Regions from separate parts of the Homo sapiens genome. Here region 2 is linked to region 1. Evidence: promoter capture Hi-C in human tissues and cell types (Jung and others, 2019). All regions are on one chromosome and are shown on one strand. Each heading gives the region's core, a stretch centred on a gene start or on the middle of the fragment in contact. The rest is flanking DNA. Distances are from core to core; before and after follow the strand shown. Region 1 holds the start of LYZL1 (lysozyme like 1). Region 2 overlaps LINC01517 (long intergenic non-protein coding RNA 1517).

Region 1 (7,931 bases), core at 2,475-4,974:
CCTATTTGCAAGCCTGAACTCCAAATTTTAGTTAAAGCAAGACATGGTTGGTGATCCCATTGTCGGCTTTCTCGCCTAGTCCTGAGGATGGCATCACTGGAAAGTCAGAGCCTCACCTGAGCAGGCGACATGGCAGTGGTTGTTCTCCTTCAGCTTTCCGCGTCTGCACCACGCGAAGCTGTTGATCTGGAAGATGCCATAGTCGATGCTGCCGTCATCCAGGACCGTCTGGGCTGTGGTGTTGTAGCCGCTCTCATAATATGCCATGCAGATCCCTGGAGGGGGGAAAGCCAGAAACGCCAGCAAAGGAAGTGCATCTTTTGCTCTAAGCTTGGTCTGAGGGCGAGTTTCCTTATCCTTGTTACCTGACTGCTTCCTCCCAATACACCTTGGGCAGGGCAGGGCGGGCATGCGCCCAGGGGGCACACGAGGGGCACATCGGGGGCTGGGATGGCACACCTGAAGCTGTACACCCAGTCAGGGGCTGAGCCTAATCTAGACCAACAGTCAGGTCCCCCCACTCCCCACAATGCCAGCAGAGGTGGCATTATTTTCCCCTTCCCTGGCTAGTGTCATAAGGACAGGACTCCAGGAATAAGGAAATGAGGGGCAGGGGAGGAAGGAGAGGAGACCCAGAGAGCCACAGTTAGGCTAGCAGCCACCCCTGAGTGCGGTGAGGGCAGAGCAGGGGTAGTTGGGAAGACACAGCAGGGAGTGTGGCCAGGACCTTCAACATCTCAGGGGAAAGGTCAAGGACAGAAGGAGAGCAGGAAAGAAAGAGTCTCACAGTTTCCAAGGCTGAAGCCCCAGTAATTGTCCAGGCCAGCCCTCGAGAATATTTTTGCCAGTTTGCAACGAGTGTAGATTTTGGACTCGGCGCCTGTGACCAGGCAGCCAATGAGGGTCAGAATGCCCGCAGCCTTCATCCTCAAAGCCTGCCGGAGACAGAACCTGCCAAAGAGCCGGAGAACAGGTCAGACGATCTTGGTTCAGGAACTTTGAAATCCAGCGGTGGTGACTGTGCACAGCCCTGCCTAGATGCTGCCTGTCACTTTGGTCATTCAGTGCCACCATCAGGGAAAACCGGCCACTCTACGGTCCAGGGAAGGAAGGCAACTGAAGGCTGTTTCCTTAATGCTTTTCCATACAGTAACTTTCAAGTCAATGCTGTGTTCTCAGGGTTAAGCAAGCAAAAAAATTAACCCTCCTTAATACACATCCAGGTGAAAACCACAGGGGGCATTTTTAGGATTTCTATTTTAATTCTATGAATGAAAAATAGAATACAGGGGTGAAACATTCCCTATACTGCTGACCCTTGAACAACATGGGTTTGAACTGCGTGGGTCCATTTATCCGTGAATTTTCTTCTGCCTCTGCCACCCCGAGACAGCAAGACCAACCCCTCCTCTTCCTCCTCCACCTCAGCCTGCTCAGTGTGAAGACAACCAGGATGAAGCCCTTTATGATGATCCACTTCCACTTAACAAATAGTAAATGTATCTTCTCTTCCTTATTCTTTTCTGAATAACATTTCATTTCTCTAGCTTACTTTATTGTAAGAATCCAGTACAGAAGACATAGAACATAAAAAATATGTGTTTATTGGCTATTTATGTTATCAGTAAGGCTTCCAGTCAGCAGTAGGCTATGGAGTCGTTAAGTTTCTGGGGAGTCAAAAGTTACATGCAGATTTTCAACTGAGCAGGCGTCGGTGCCCGTGACCCCTACATTTGTTCAAGGATCAACTGGATGTGTAGAAACAGACAGCCCATTTCAGCCACAGATGAAAGACACGTGGGCCTGTATGGAAAACTTTAAGGGTTATTGTTTGGGGGTTTATCGAAGAGTGAAGATTAAGCACCTACTCTTTCATTTTCTTTTCTTGATTCAGTTCCAAATGTGGGAGCTTTGCTTCCAAAGTATCAGTGCTTTTATTTATTTATTTATTTTTTGAGATGGAATCTCACTCTGTTGTCCAGGCTGGAGTGCAGTGGCGCCATCTGGGCTCACTCCAAACTCTGCCTCCCAGGTTCAAGCGATTCTCCTGCCTCAGCCTCCTGAGTAGCTGGGATTACAGGCGCCCACCACCACACCTGGCTAATTTTTGTGTTTCTAGTATAGATGAGGTTTCACACTGTTGGTCAGGCTCATTTCAAACTCCTGACCTTGTGATCTGCCCACCTCGGCCTCCCAAAGTGCTGGGATAACAGGTGTGAGCCACCATGCCCAGCCCAAAACATGAGTGTTTTATCTTAGATTGCAAATGCATTGCTTTGCTAAGCTTCACCACCAGTGCTCCGGGGGGCCTCCTAAAAGTCTGGCACCTGACTGGGGAGCAAGAGGGATGGAGGACAAAGCCTCATGAAAGGAGGAAAGCACCTGGGGGAGCAGAGGGGCAATAAAGAGACCCCTGCGGAATCATCTGAAATGGGAGTAGGATCAAGAGAGCTGTCTCCTGCTGCCTACTGATTTTCCACAATCTCTTCCCCTCTTGAAATAATGTCTTCCCCAAATACAACAGCCTTGCTGGGATGGGGTGAAGTGAAATTTCTGACAACTACTCGGGATCCTGAACTTGATGTTCTTACATATGTTCATCCCGTGTCATTTTCTGCACTTGCCTAGAAACTTCTCCAGTCATTAGTTTCTCTCCCTGGGGCTGGATTCCTGCATTGAAAGGCTAGGCCCAAAACAGGGATAAGTAGTCATCAGCAAGGCCACCGCACCAAGTAACAAGCAGGGCTTTAAGGTGACTAAGCAATAAGGTAAGGAACTGCATTGCATGAGGGGCATGTACATTACAAACGTGAATAGCAAGCGTGGGCAAACCAGGCCCGCTTTTGTATGTAAAGTTTTATTGAAACATAGCTACACCCATTTGGTAATATATCATTGGTGGCTGATTTCCAACTACAGTGGCAGAGTTCAGTAATTGTGTTTGAGGCCGTATAGACCACAAAGCCTAACATATTATTATCTGGCCCTTTTCAGAGAGAGCATGCCAGTCCGCTGTGTACAGCACTGTGTTAAGCTGTGAGGGACAGACAAACGAGGTTTAAGATGCAGAGCTAAGGCCAGGCATGGTGGGTGATACCTGTAATCCAAGCACTTTGGGAGGCTGAGGTGAGCAGATTGCTTGAAGCCAGGAGTTTGAGACTAGCCTGGGCAGCAAAGGTAGACCCTGCCTCTACAAAATATACAAAAATTAGCCAGGCATGGTGGTGTGTGCCTGTGGTCCCAGCTACTGGGGAGGCTGAGGTGGGAGGATCACTTGAGGCTGGGAGTTTGAGGCCATAGTGAGCCATGATTGTGACACTGCACTCCAGCCTGGGCAGCAGAGTGAGAGACCCTGTCTAAAAAAAAAAAAAAAAAAGAAAAGAAAAAAGAAAAAAAGATACAGAGCTTACAAATAGAGTTGGTTTCCATCCCCTGCCTTAGAATTTTACTGATCTCAAACAAGTCCAAAGAAAACCCGCAGCAATGATAACCCCAAGCATCATGTTCTACATCCTTCAAGAACCTGCCATTGCTGGTTCTCATAAGAGTAATTTAGGTCTTACTGAAAAGGCAGATTCCTGGTGCCTGCCCCAGAGGCTGACTTCTCAGTTGAGTCTGCGGAAGAAACACTGCTCCACTTAGTCGGTGACAGGCAGCTCAGGGGAGCGTCCTGCATCCCCTGAAGCCATGTCTGATTCTAACGAGGCGCGAGTAATCCTTTCCTAGCTCAAGAACATTTCTTTAGAGTGTTAGAGAAAGAAAAATTCTTAATCCTTTGTTTCTCACCACCTAGAGATGCTAGAATTCTACTTCTTGGCACTAAAAGCTGTATCATCCTGCATGCTTGTGTTCTGAGGCAGGTGATAACTGTCTTCTGGGGCTTAATACCTCTTGTTTTTTGTCTTTTCCCCTCAACAACCCTCCTCATTACACAACTTGGCCAGGGCCTCCTGTCCAAGTGAGAGCTCTTCTCTGAGGCGTCTGCAAACTTTATCACAAATTCCATTAATAAAGAAAGTTAAGCATGTATCCTCTTTAGATGTACATTGAGTTATAAATCATACTTCTGTACCTCAGTACTAATATGCTACATAAATTATCAACATACATAAAACTAAAATTTGAAAATTAATGACATAGAGGTGAAATTAACATTAAAAATTTATTAACAGCACATTTGCTATAGTCAAATTATTATTAATAAAATATTTTTGTAATAACATGATTTTATTATTTTTGAAAAATTTGGCTTAACACTTTGTGAATCAATAACTAAAGGGCTGTTTTCAAGGTCTATTTATTTCAATGTTCAGATTTAGTGACACATTTGAAATGAATTCTCATTAGAATATGTAGATCTAAGTAGAAGTTTATTGTTGGCTGCACCTAACTAATCGTTATATTTTCTTAAATTCCATCTGCCAATAATGCAAAGGTTTTGTTGAAATCTATTTTGAAGTTCATATAGTATTGCATTATACAGATACAACATAGCATACTTAGCCAATTTCATATTGATGCACACTTATTTTATTCTTCTATTGTAAACATATTACAACCAGTAATTTTGTACATATGTCATTTGTAACTTTACAAGAATATCTTGCTGGATCAAAGGGTATAATTTTGTAATTTTGCTAGATATTTGCCAAATTGCCTTTCACATGGGCTTGTATCAGGAAGATAGCACACTGTGTTATCAAATGTTTCAATATTTCTCAATATTAGAGATGAAACATAATTTTTCAGCAGAGTTTCAATTTCAACTTTCGTTATTTCAAGCTGCTTGAGGGTCTTTTTTATCTTTAGAAGCCATTAGTGGACTTCTTGTGAACAGTCTATAATATGAGAAAATGTATAGGTTTTTCCCTCAAACATCTTTTTCAAAATGCTTTGAAATAGGGATCTTACCAGTGAGAAAATAGAGACGGATTGTCTTTTTCTTTTTCAAAAATGCTTGCTTAGCAAGTTTTCAGATATGACGTAAATATACAAAAGCCATTTACAATCTTATATACTAGGAATAGAAAATAAGAGTTTGAAATAAAAAAAAATCCATTTACAATAGTACACAAATGCAAATGAAGTACTTAAATTTAAACCTAACAAAATATGTGCAGGATATATATACTGACAACTATAAGACAGACGGAAAATTAAAGAAGACCTGAGTAAATGAAAAAGACACACCATATTCATGAATTTGAAGAGTCAATATTATTAAGATTTAATACATAGATTTAGTGGAATCCCATTTAAACTCCCAGAAAAATTGTTTAGAAAATATCAATAAGAGGGTCCTAAAACTTATATGAAAAGGCAAAGGGACTAGAGTAGGCAAAACTATTCAGAAGAATAATAAAATTGAAGGACTCATATTGCTTGATTTTAGAACTTAATATAAAGCTGTAGTAATCAAGACAGGATGATATTTGTGGAAACAGACACATAGGACAGTGTAACAAAATAGAGAGCCTAGAAATAGTGTTACACATATGTAGTCAAGTAGCTTTTTATAAAGATGCAAATTAAATTCAATGGAAAGATGATGTTCCATTTAACACATGGTACTAAAATAAGACTGTCTATGTGCAAAACAACGAAAACAACAAAAATAAAACAAGGCATAAGGCATATTGAAGAATACATACCTTATATCTCATACAAAAATTAATTCAAGATGGATCAAAAGCCTAAATGTAAAAAGTGTGAAACGATGAAATTCTTTAAGTTAAATATAAAAAATCTGCAGGACCTTGGGTTTGGCAATGAAATTTTAGATATAACATCAAAAGCACAATCCATGAAAGGAAGAAAAAAAAACTGATTAGTTGGATTTGATCAAAATTTAAAACTTTTGCTCTTTGAAAGACACTGTTAAGGGAATGAAAAGATTAGCTACAGATTGGAAGAAATATTTACAAATCAATGTCTGATGAGATGAAAGCCTTGTATTCAGAATATATAAAGGACTCTTAGAATTCAACTATAAGCAAGCATATAACCCAATTAAAAAAAGGGCAAATGATTTAAGCAGACATTTCAAAGAAGATATACAAATGACAAGCATATGAAAAGATGATCAATATCATTGTCACCAGGAAAGAGTAAATAAAACCACAATTAGATATCACTTCTCACTAATTAGAATTGCTAAAATCAATTAGATGAAACCAAATGATGAAGACACAGAACTGTAAGAACTCCAATTTATCACTGGTGGAAATACAAATGGTACAGTCACTTTGGAAAACAGTTAGTCAGTTTCTCATAAAATTAAACATGGACTTATCACATAAACCGACAATTATACTCCTATGTATTTATTCAAGTGAATAAAAAACTTACATTCACACAAAAACAAGCTAACCCATGTTTATAGCAGCTTTATTCATAATCAATGAAAACTGGAAGCAACAAAGATGACCTTCAGCAGGCAAATATATTCAAAAACTATGATCTATCCATACAATGGAATACTACTCAGCAATGAAAGGAATGAGCTATTTGATTCCCGCAACAATGAGGATGAATCTTAAATGCATTTTGCTAAATAAAAGAAGGCAGACCCAAAAGATTACTATTATATATACGTATTATATATAATTCCATATATACGACATTATGGAAAAGGCAAAATTTATAGGGATGGAAAACAGTTCAGTGATTGTCAAGGGTTAGAGGAGAAATTGACTACAAAGGAACCACACACATTCTATTTTATTTTAGGTCATTGGAACTGTTCTCTATGATACTGGGGTAGTAGAAACATGGCTTCATGAATTTGTCAAAATCTGTAGACCCGTACACCACAAAGGGGGAACTTCATTGTATGCAAACTTTAAAAAAATCATCCAGGATGTTGGGGAATACCAGGATAGAATTTAGTCTGTGAGAAAAAGACCTAACTGTATTACAAACGTATAACATAACCTCACTGAAGGCGTGGGAAAAGAGATGCGGATCCAGGTAACTTTAGAAAACAGTGTTTTGACTGAATATCTAAAGTCTAAAGACAAAACAATCTGTACATAAACACTGTACTTCAGTTGGTGAATTCCCTTCTCCCTGGGGTAAGAGTTAGCAATTCTGAAACTACATGTAAACTAGCATTAAGCAAATGAAGAAAAACATTGCAGATGATGGGAGCCAGATTTCACACTGTCAGAGAGAGAAGTTAAAAACAAGCAAAAGAGAAAGACTAGAATTGAACTCTGTGACACTGGATTAGAGTTGGAGACATTAATATAAATCTGTCCATCTACCTAGAAACAGTGGCACTCCAGTAGCTATGGGCATTCTCAATACACAGACTTGCTTCTAATACCATTTTATTCTCCAGTAAAAGAAACCAGGACTCCTTAGAAAAGAAGCTGATTGCAGAACTGAGTCAGGGAAAATGCAAAATGAGCTTGGGGTATCTTGTTGGTGCCAAAGAATAAGGAAATGCTGAGGGTGGGGGAGGCACATGTCGAAGAGACACAGGAACCAAACTGAGAAAACCCCCCGATGGCCTAAACTGAGACAATCGCACAACAAAATAAACAACGATAGTACTGGATTCTAACACACAGAATAAAATAAATATATATGAGGACATACTGATATAAATAAATGATTGAATAAATAAATATCTGAGGACAAGAAACAAGTCTGTCTCTCAGAAGAATTCTAAGTAATCTATGTAGAAAATCCCCCTCCAGGAAATGGAGCTTAATTCTCCTCCCTTTGAGTAGGGGCTCGACTGACTGACTTGCTTCCCACAGATAGAATGCAGAAAGGGGAAAATGGCGACTTTCTGGTGAGGAAACCCAGCGGACTCTATCTTAGCCAAGTGATCCAGGTTAACCTCATCAGGGATGAGTCATGTTAGGTCCCCCTGATAGGACATGACAAGAAGGGCACCTCACCTCTGTGGTTTTCTTTCCCCG
Region 2 (7,931 bases), core at 2,007-4,506, 530 kb after region 1:
TAAAAATAAATCTACTCAACATATCAATCTGTAATTCAAATGATCCCACCCAAATGGAAAGCCCCTATTCTTCAACAGACTTCAATCATCAAGAAACCAAAACATTAATTTGTAGTAATCAGATTCATTGAAATTATCCCCTTGTGCTATTTCCATGGCCTGGAAAAGACCCAGTCAGAACCTTCACCTGGTAGCGAGTTTGCAGTAACTACAGCAAGTTCAACTCAATGCTTCTTCAAATAAGAAAAACGTGTAGTAAAATAGACAGCTCGAAGCTATACTCTATTTTTCTCCCTTTCTTTTTTTTTTTTGAGATGGAGTCTGGCTCTGGCACCGAGGCTGGAGTGCAGTGGCATGATCTCGGCTCACTGCAACCTCTGCCTCCTGGGTTCAAGTGATTCCCTTGCCTCAGCTTCCCAGGTAGCTGGGATTACAGGCGCCCACCACCATGTCCGGCTAATTTTTGTAATTTTGGTAGAGACGAGGTTTCACCATATTGCCCAGGCTGGTCATGAACTCCTGACCTCAGGTGATCCACCCGCCTCGGCCTCTCAAAGTGCTGGGATTACAGACATGAGAAATTGATTATTTGAGTATCCTGCTCTGCCATTTTCCATGAAGTAATTTGTATATATGCTTTGTTGTCTTGCTTTTTTTTAATGTATTAATTTTTATTTATTTATTTATTCTGAGACGGAGTTTTGCTCTTGTCGTCTGGGCTGGAGTGCAATGGCGCGATCTCAGCTCACTGCAACCTCCACCTCCCAGGTTCCGGTGATTCTCCTGCCTCAGCCTCCCGACTAGCTGGGATTACAGGGGCCCACTACCACGCCCAACTAATTTTTGTATTTTTAGTAGAAATGGGGTTTCGCCATGTTGGCCAGACTGATCTCAAACTCCTGACCTCAGGTGATCCAACTGCCTCAGCCTCCCAAAGTACTGGATTACAGGCATGAGCCACAGCGCCCAGCTGCTGTTGCCTTGCTTTAAAAAAAACCTAAGCATTGTAAAATTTATTCATTATTGTATATAGCCAGAATTGAATTTATGGGTTTGTTTTGTTTTTTTGTTGAGACAGGGTCTCACTTTATCACTCAGGCTGGAACACAGTGGTGCGATCTCAACTCACTGCAGCCTCAACCTCCCAAGCACAAGTGATCCTCCCACCTCAGCCCCCCAAGTAGCTGAGACTCCAGGCACACACCACCATTCCCAGGTAATTTTTTGTATTTTCATAGAGACAAGGTTTTGCCATGTTGTCCAGGATGGATTCAAACTCCTGAACTCAAGTGATCCTCCCACCTCAGCCTCCCAAAGTGCTGGGATTACAGGCATGACCCACAGCAACCAGCCGATTATGCCAATTTATACTACAACAAATGATGAATGAGAATTTGAGTTCCTTCATATCCTTGTCAGAATTTGGCATTGCCAGGCTTTTTAATGTTAGCCATTCTAGTGGATGTGGCTATTAGCAATTCTTGGATAAGTAATAGAAGAGCACCTTTATGTAAGTATGTTAACTACTTGGATATCTTCTTTTATGAAGTGCCTGTTCAAGTCCCTTACCATTTTTCTTCTACTGGATTGTTTGGTTTTTTTCTTAGTGATAAATACGAGCCCTTTATATTTTCCAGAATGAGTCATTTGCTTTTTGTGCCCTTTCTAATATACTTTGATAAATAGGAGTTCTTGATTTTCATGTTCAATGTATCGGTATTTTCCATTATACCCAGTACTGCTTGAGGGCTGGAGTATTGCAGAAATAAGATTGGCCATGAATTAATAATTGTAGAAATTAAGTGATAAATACATGAGGGCACATTACATGATTAAAGGCTTTGGTACATATTTGAGATTTTCTATAATAAAAAGTTTTATTATTATTATTTTTAATCCAAGGGATAACTTAAGACAGGACCAATGGGATAAGCAGGAACAGAATAACAGAAGTAGAGACAGAAGGAGGAAGGAGAAGGTGATAAGAAATGAAACATATGAATTTGGAGATTTAGAAATGGAGTCTATGACTTGAACACACATCAGGAGTTTTTCACTTGGCAATCTTACTATACGATCCAAAGGAACTATAGCAAGAGTTAAATACATAGAAAAAGGATTAGGTCAAAACTGATACACTGGGAAAGCAAAGAGGTCTGAGTGTGCATACAACTCAAAACTTCCGAGAGAGAGTAGGGTTAGAAGTGGCTGGTGGCCGGGCGCGGTGGCTCATGCCTGTAATCCCAGCACTTCTGGAGGCTGAGATGGGTGGATCTCTGAGGTCAGGGGTTCGAGACTAGCCTGCCAAACATGGCGAAACCCTGTCTCTCCTAAAAATACAAAAAATTAGCCTGGCATGGTGGCGCATGACTGTAAACCCAGCTACTCAGGAGGCTGAGGCAGAAGAATCGCTTGAATCTAGGAGTTGGAAGTTGCAGTGAGCCAAGATCATGCCACTGCACTCCAGCCTGGGCAACACAGCAAGACTCTGTCTCAAAAAAAAAAAAAGTGGCTAGTGACCTACTTACTAGTCATGTGGGACAAAGACAATTAAATGATACATTTTGAGTTAACCTGAATTACTGTCAATTCTCTTTTATATGCAAAGGCTAGGAAATGAGATGTCCTAGTTAAGCCAATTTCATATGCGTAAATACCATATATTTAGTCACTTATTAAAGTAGTAAACAGAACTCTCCTGGAGCCACTTCATCCTATTGTAGAGCATTTGGCTTTCCTGAGCATGAATCTGTAGAATATTTTTGGAAGAGAAAGTTTTTGAGTCCCTACCATTCACATCATTTCATGTTATTATTCCAAATGCATGACTTTCATTTACAAGGAAAATAAGGATCTTCCAAAGATATGAACTATTCTGGGTCATTCATGGTTTTCAGCCAGGAAAGCATCTACAGAAACAAAAAAGCAGGACACTGTTATCAGACGTGGGGTTAAATAATCATAATGAAAGACCACTCCTTAATCACTCCATAGCACATGAGCCCCTTTAGACAGCTGAATTTACTTACATTTGTCAAAAACATGGCTGATTTTGGAACCAAGTTGCAGGTTATTATAGTACAAAATTCCAGTTGACATTTAGCAAGCTTAACCCAAATAAAGATGACAGTTCAGGCTATAGTAGGGCTATTAAATTTGTCATTATAACTTCTAGCCAAGTATTTGTCAACTACGTATTCATTTGAACAAAACCATATGCATTTATAAGATGTCAGCCTCCTAAGTGTAGACATACATAGGCTAAAAATCATCCCAAGAACAGCTCAATAATTCTCCTGCTGCAAAATTTAAGGACAGAGCCAACTCAGGGACACAGGAGGGTTTTCTGCAGCCTCTGGGGCAGAACTTCCAAGTTGCCTAGGAACAAGTCATTTGCTTCTATCTATTGTCTCAAGAATGCTGAGGTGCAGGCAGAACGGAAGAAGGTGGTAGCAGAATCAGATGGTTTGCAAATATGAATCATAAGGCACTCACTCATTTCTGCCCTTGTCTGCTATCTTCCTTTCCACCCCTAAGTGTTTATTTTAACCTAGTTTGATCTGTGTCAGTGCACATGGAGGCAAGGATGAATAAAAAATACTGAGGATGGGCCAGGCACAGTGGCTCATGCCTGTAATCCCAGCACTTTGGGAGGCCGAGGTGGGAGGATCACGAGGTCAGGGGTTCGAGACCAGCCTGGCCAATATGGTGAAACCCCAACTCTACTAAAAATACAAAAATTAACTGGGCGTGGTGGTGGGCACCTGTAATCCCAGCTACTCAGGAGGCTGAGCCAGGAGAATCGCTTGAAACCGGAAAGCAGAGGTAACAGTGAGCTGAGATCATGCCACTGCATTCCAGCCTGGGTGAAAGAGCAAAACTCCTTCTCGTTGTTGAACTCTTGTTTCTCTGGGTCCATTTTTCTCATGTGGTTCAACAGAGGGACTTTTTATTAAGAACCAGGCGCCCCCCAACCAAAGAACCTAAAAGAGGGATATAGGAATCTGCGATGATTCTCACATTATGCCAGTTCATGCTTCACTTAGTCTTCTGGTTCACTGTAATTCTCTGCCAGGTTTCAAGGTGCTCTCCTTGGCTAAAGCCAGACCTCAGCTGCACTCCAGCCCTGTGACAAACCAAAAAGTCCCTCATCGTGCTGGACAAAGTCTACTTCAACGTATGGCCCATGACAGACAATAGCCCTCCATTTCAGGAAATACTTTCTAGTAGACTACAAGTATTACCAACAGACTTGGGGGAAACCCACAGGCCAGATTCCCATCAATAATATTTCTAACATTATTGGAAATGTAGGAATTTCTAACATTATTAGAAATGGGAATAATATTTATTATAATAATATAGATATAATAATATAGTAATAAAATATTTTATAAATTTATAAAATATAAAATGTATAAATTTATAAAATATATAATATAATTTATAAAATTTATAAAATAATTTGTATCGAATTTTATCATTTATAAATATAAATTTGTATTTATAATTTATTATTAAAAATAATTTATGAATTTATAAAATGATATTATATAATAATATTGATGGGGATAATATTCCATCAGTAATATCAGTAATATTTCCAAGAAAAGAGGTTTCCTGAAGTTATTACTTGTACCAGATACCTTGGCTAGGTCAAGATGCCCCTTGGGCACCACTCCACACCTGCTCAGCCTCACCTGTTTCTCTTTGCATCTATTGCTGTTGGGACTAGTACTGTGTAGGATCTGATCAACAGGTGCAACCTAACAGCACCCAGACCAGGGCCCCCACTGCCAGCCCTGGTAGGGTAGTTGACACATGGGAACCAGCTTGGTGTTCCCAGATGATGATAACTACTAAATTATCATCTTTCTAATAATCTCCATAGGGTTTTAATATTTTAATCATTAATACTCTATAGGACAAACCTTTGATCATTGGAAAAATGGATCCAGTGGATAAAGGCATCCCCTCTGTTCTTTCTCTGGGCTTATGACTTCAAGACATCTCAGGCAGCCCCACGAGATTGGACACAGGAGCTGTGACCAGCTCAACGAAACAGCTCTGTAATCGACTCTCTTTCCTTCCTTGCTTCACTCCCATCCTTCACTCCTGCTCCTAGGTCATATGCTAAAATAAAGCATGTGAAGTATGACCTCAAGCTTTAACTATGTGGCTGTATCAGCTTTCCAGAGAACCCAGGCTAAGATACTAGTCTATCAGCAGTCCCAGTGTGATGATGAGTAAATCATTGATTTCCCAACCTTTGAACATTTTATATGATAGAAATATAAACTCTACTAAGCCTTCTCAAACTCCAATTCCATCACATCATCTGCCTGAACAACAAACTACAACTTCTTCTGCCATCATTCCAACTCCTCAGCTGTTCCCTTTCCATTTCTACTTTATTAACGTTTATTGGAAAGTCCCCTTGGGGTTACATTCAAGGCTGTCCATCTTCTCCCTCCTTCCCTGCCCTTCACCAGCTATATCCCCTCCCCCAGACCCAAGCTTCCCTGTTGCTGTCACTCTACGTGTAAGGTGCTCATTCTGCCGCCAGGACTTCCATTCATTAACTGTACCTAGTTAGGTTGCCTCCCATCACACCATTACTCCACCTCCCTTCAACAGCAAGATGTTGTTGAACATGGTATACAGCTGGCACTGTCAAATCCCCTTTACAAGCCAGATGCAGTGCTGTGCTCCTGTAGTCTCAGCTACTCAGGAGGCTGAGGCAGGAGGATTGCTTGAGCCCCAGAGTTCAAGGCCAGCCTGAGCAACATAACAAGACCTCATCTCTTAAAAAAAATTCCCCTTTACAGAAAAAGAGAGAAAAACTGTACAACTGTTATTTTGCTGTAATAAGTCTGCTATTTTAAAAGGATGTCCCAGCCTAGGAAACATGGAAAAACCCCATCTCTACAAAAAAATTAAAAATCAGCTGGGCATGGTGGCATGTGCCTATAGTCCCACTACTCAAGAGGCTAAGTAAGGCCTGAGGGTTGCATGAGCCCAGAAGGTATGCAGGTTCACAGGAGCTGCAGTGAACCATGATCACACCACTGTGCTCCAGCCTGGATGACAGAGTGAGACCCTGTCTCAAAAAAAAAAAAAAAAACAAAACACAGGATGTCATTTGGAACTTATTTTCAAAAAATACATGTTTGTAATGGTTTTTATCATCATAGTAGAATATTAGAATATTACCTACACATCATTTGGCAATTGAGGAAGTTGCTTTTTCCTTTTCTGTGGATATTTTGTCTCCACCCACAACTGAACTAGGACTTTATTTCTCTTGCTCTTTTCTGCTCACAGCCTCAGATCATCAACCGAGTCTGCGCATCTAGAGTGGTGCATCACACACGAAGGTACTTGCTCAGTGTGTTGGGAAGTGTGCAGGGAACCTAGCCACAGCTAAGGCCAGACAGGCATAGGAAAAACTGGCCTGGTCACTCTTCCAGCCACTGTTCTAGGATTCCATGTTCATCTCTCAACACTTATGGGGATAAATAGTTGCTAATAAGATGAAATCATAACTCTGACTTTTAAGCCATAGGAAACATTTTCCAGACATGCATATGCACACATATATATTTATGTATGTATGCATGTGTATATATATATATATATATATATATATATATATATATATATATTTTCCCACCACTTTCCTGGAGGCAAAGGCGGTGCCTGTGGATTAAACTCAGCTTTGTAGCCATTTAACAATTGCCTTAAGTGGGAGTTTTATAAAAGCATCTAATTGAGGCCAGGTGCAGTGGCTCCTGCCTGTAATCCCAGTGCTTTGAGGGGCCAAGGCAGGAGGATTGCTTGAAGCCAGGAGTTTAAGACCACCCTGAACAACATAGCAAGACCCATCTCTTAAAAAAAAAAAAAAAAAAAAAAAAGCTAAAAATTTTAAAAATCAAAATTTAAAAAATCTAATGATATTTACTAATTCTTCCCACTCCCTACTTGCCTGTCTCCTGTCATGTAAAGGCTGTCTCCTCTCTTTCAATTGTTTAGCCTCCAAAGCTGGAATCCTCCCCAATTTCTCTTTCTCTCACATATCATGCCCATCCCATTAGCAAGTCCTGTGAGTTGTAAATTCAAAGAGACCTAAATATGACACTCCTCACCACCCTGGTCCAAACCACCATCATCCTTCCCCTGAACTGTATTTGAATCACTTTCTAAATATTCTCACTGCCTCTACCTTCACCTCCCTTTTAGCCCATTCTCAACATAGCAGCTTTACAATCTTATTAAAATAAAAGGCAGGCCAGGTGCAGTGAATCATGCCAGTAATCCCAGCACTTTGGAAGACCAGGGCAGGAGAATTGCTTCAGTCCAAGAGTTCGAGACCAGCCTGGGCAACAAAGCAAGAACTCATCTCTACAAAAATAAAATAAAAATAAAAAATTAGCCAAGCATGGTGGCAGCACCTGTAGTCTCAGCTACTTGGGAGGCTGAAACTGGCGGATTGCTTGAGCCCAGGAGTTTGAGGCTGCAGTAAGCTATGATCACACCACTGCACTCCAGCCTGGGCAACAGAGCAAGACCCTGTCTTTAAAAAACAAAACACATTCACTGGGCAAGATGGCCGAATGGGAACAGCTCTGGTCTGCATCTCCCAGTTAGACCAACATAGAAGGTGGATGATTTCTGCATTTCCAACTGAGCCTCCTCTGGTGATACCCAGGCAAACAGCGTCTGCAGTGGACCTCCAGCAAACTCCAGCAGACCTGCAGAAGAGGGGCCTGGTTTTCCTTCCTAGTTAGAAGGAAAACTAAAAAACAGAAAGCAATAACATCAACATCAACAAAAGACACCCATGCAAAAATGTCATCCAAAGGTCATCAGCATCAAAGATCAAAGGTAGATAAATCCACGAAGATGAGGAAAAACCAGCACAAAAATGCTGA

What was found. Contacts are between HindIII fragments. The study calls those that stand out against the background at their distance.
Region 2: a fragment that was not itself captured here is called in contact with the fragment with the promoter of LYZL1 in region 1 in 2 of the 25 tissues and cell types used here (IMR-90 fibroblasts and dorsolateral prefrontal cortex).

What each region holds. Positions count from the first base shown.
Region 1 is chr10:29,284,863-29,292,793 of GRCh38, reverse strand. It overlaps LYZL1 (lysozyme like 1), which reads right to left and starts at 3,724. Exons shown (of 5, transcript NM_032517.6): 1 at 3,564-3,724; 2 at 788-951; 3 at 117-275. The coding sequence starts at 926. RefSeq lists an enhancer at 6,890-6,979 and a silencer at 7,090-7,159. The HindIII fragment of the contact is 13,518 bases long and covers 1,308-7,931 here.
Region 2 is chr10:28,752,338-28,760,268 of GRCh38, reverse strand. All of the region lies in intron 2 of LINC01517 (long intergenic non-protein coding RNA 1517), which reads right to left. Among named protein-coding and RNA genes, the nearest start is that of LINC01517, 13 kb to the right of the region's middle. The HindIII fragment of the contact is 7,130 bases long and covers 1-6,821 here.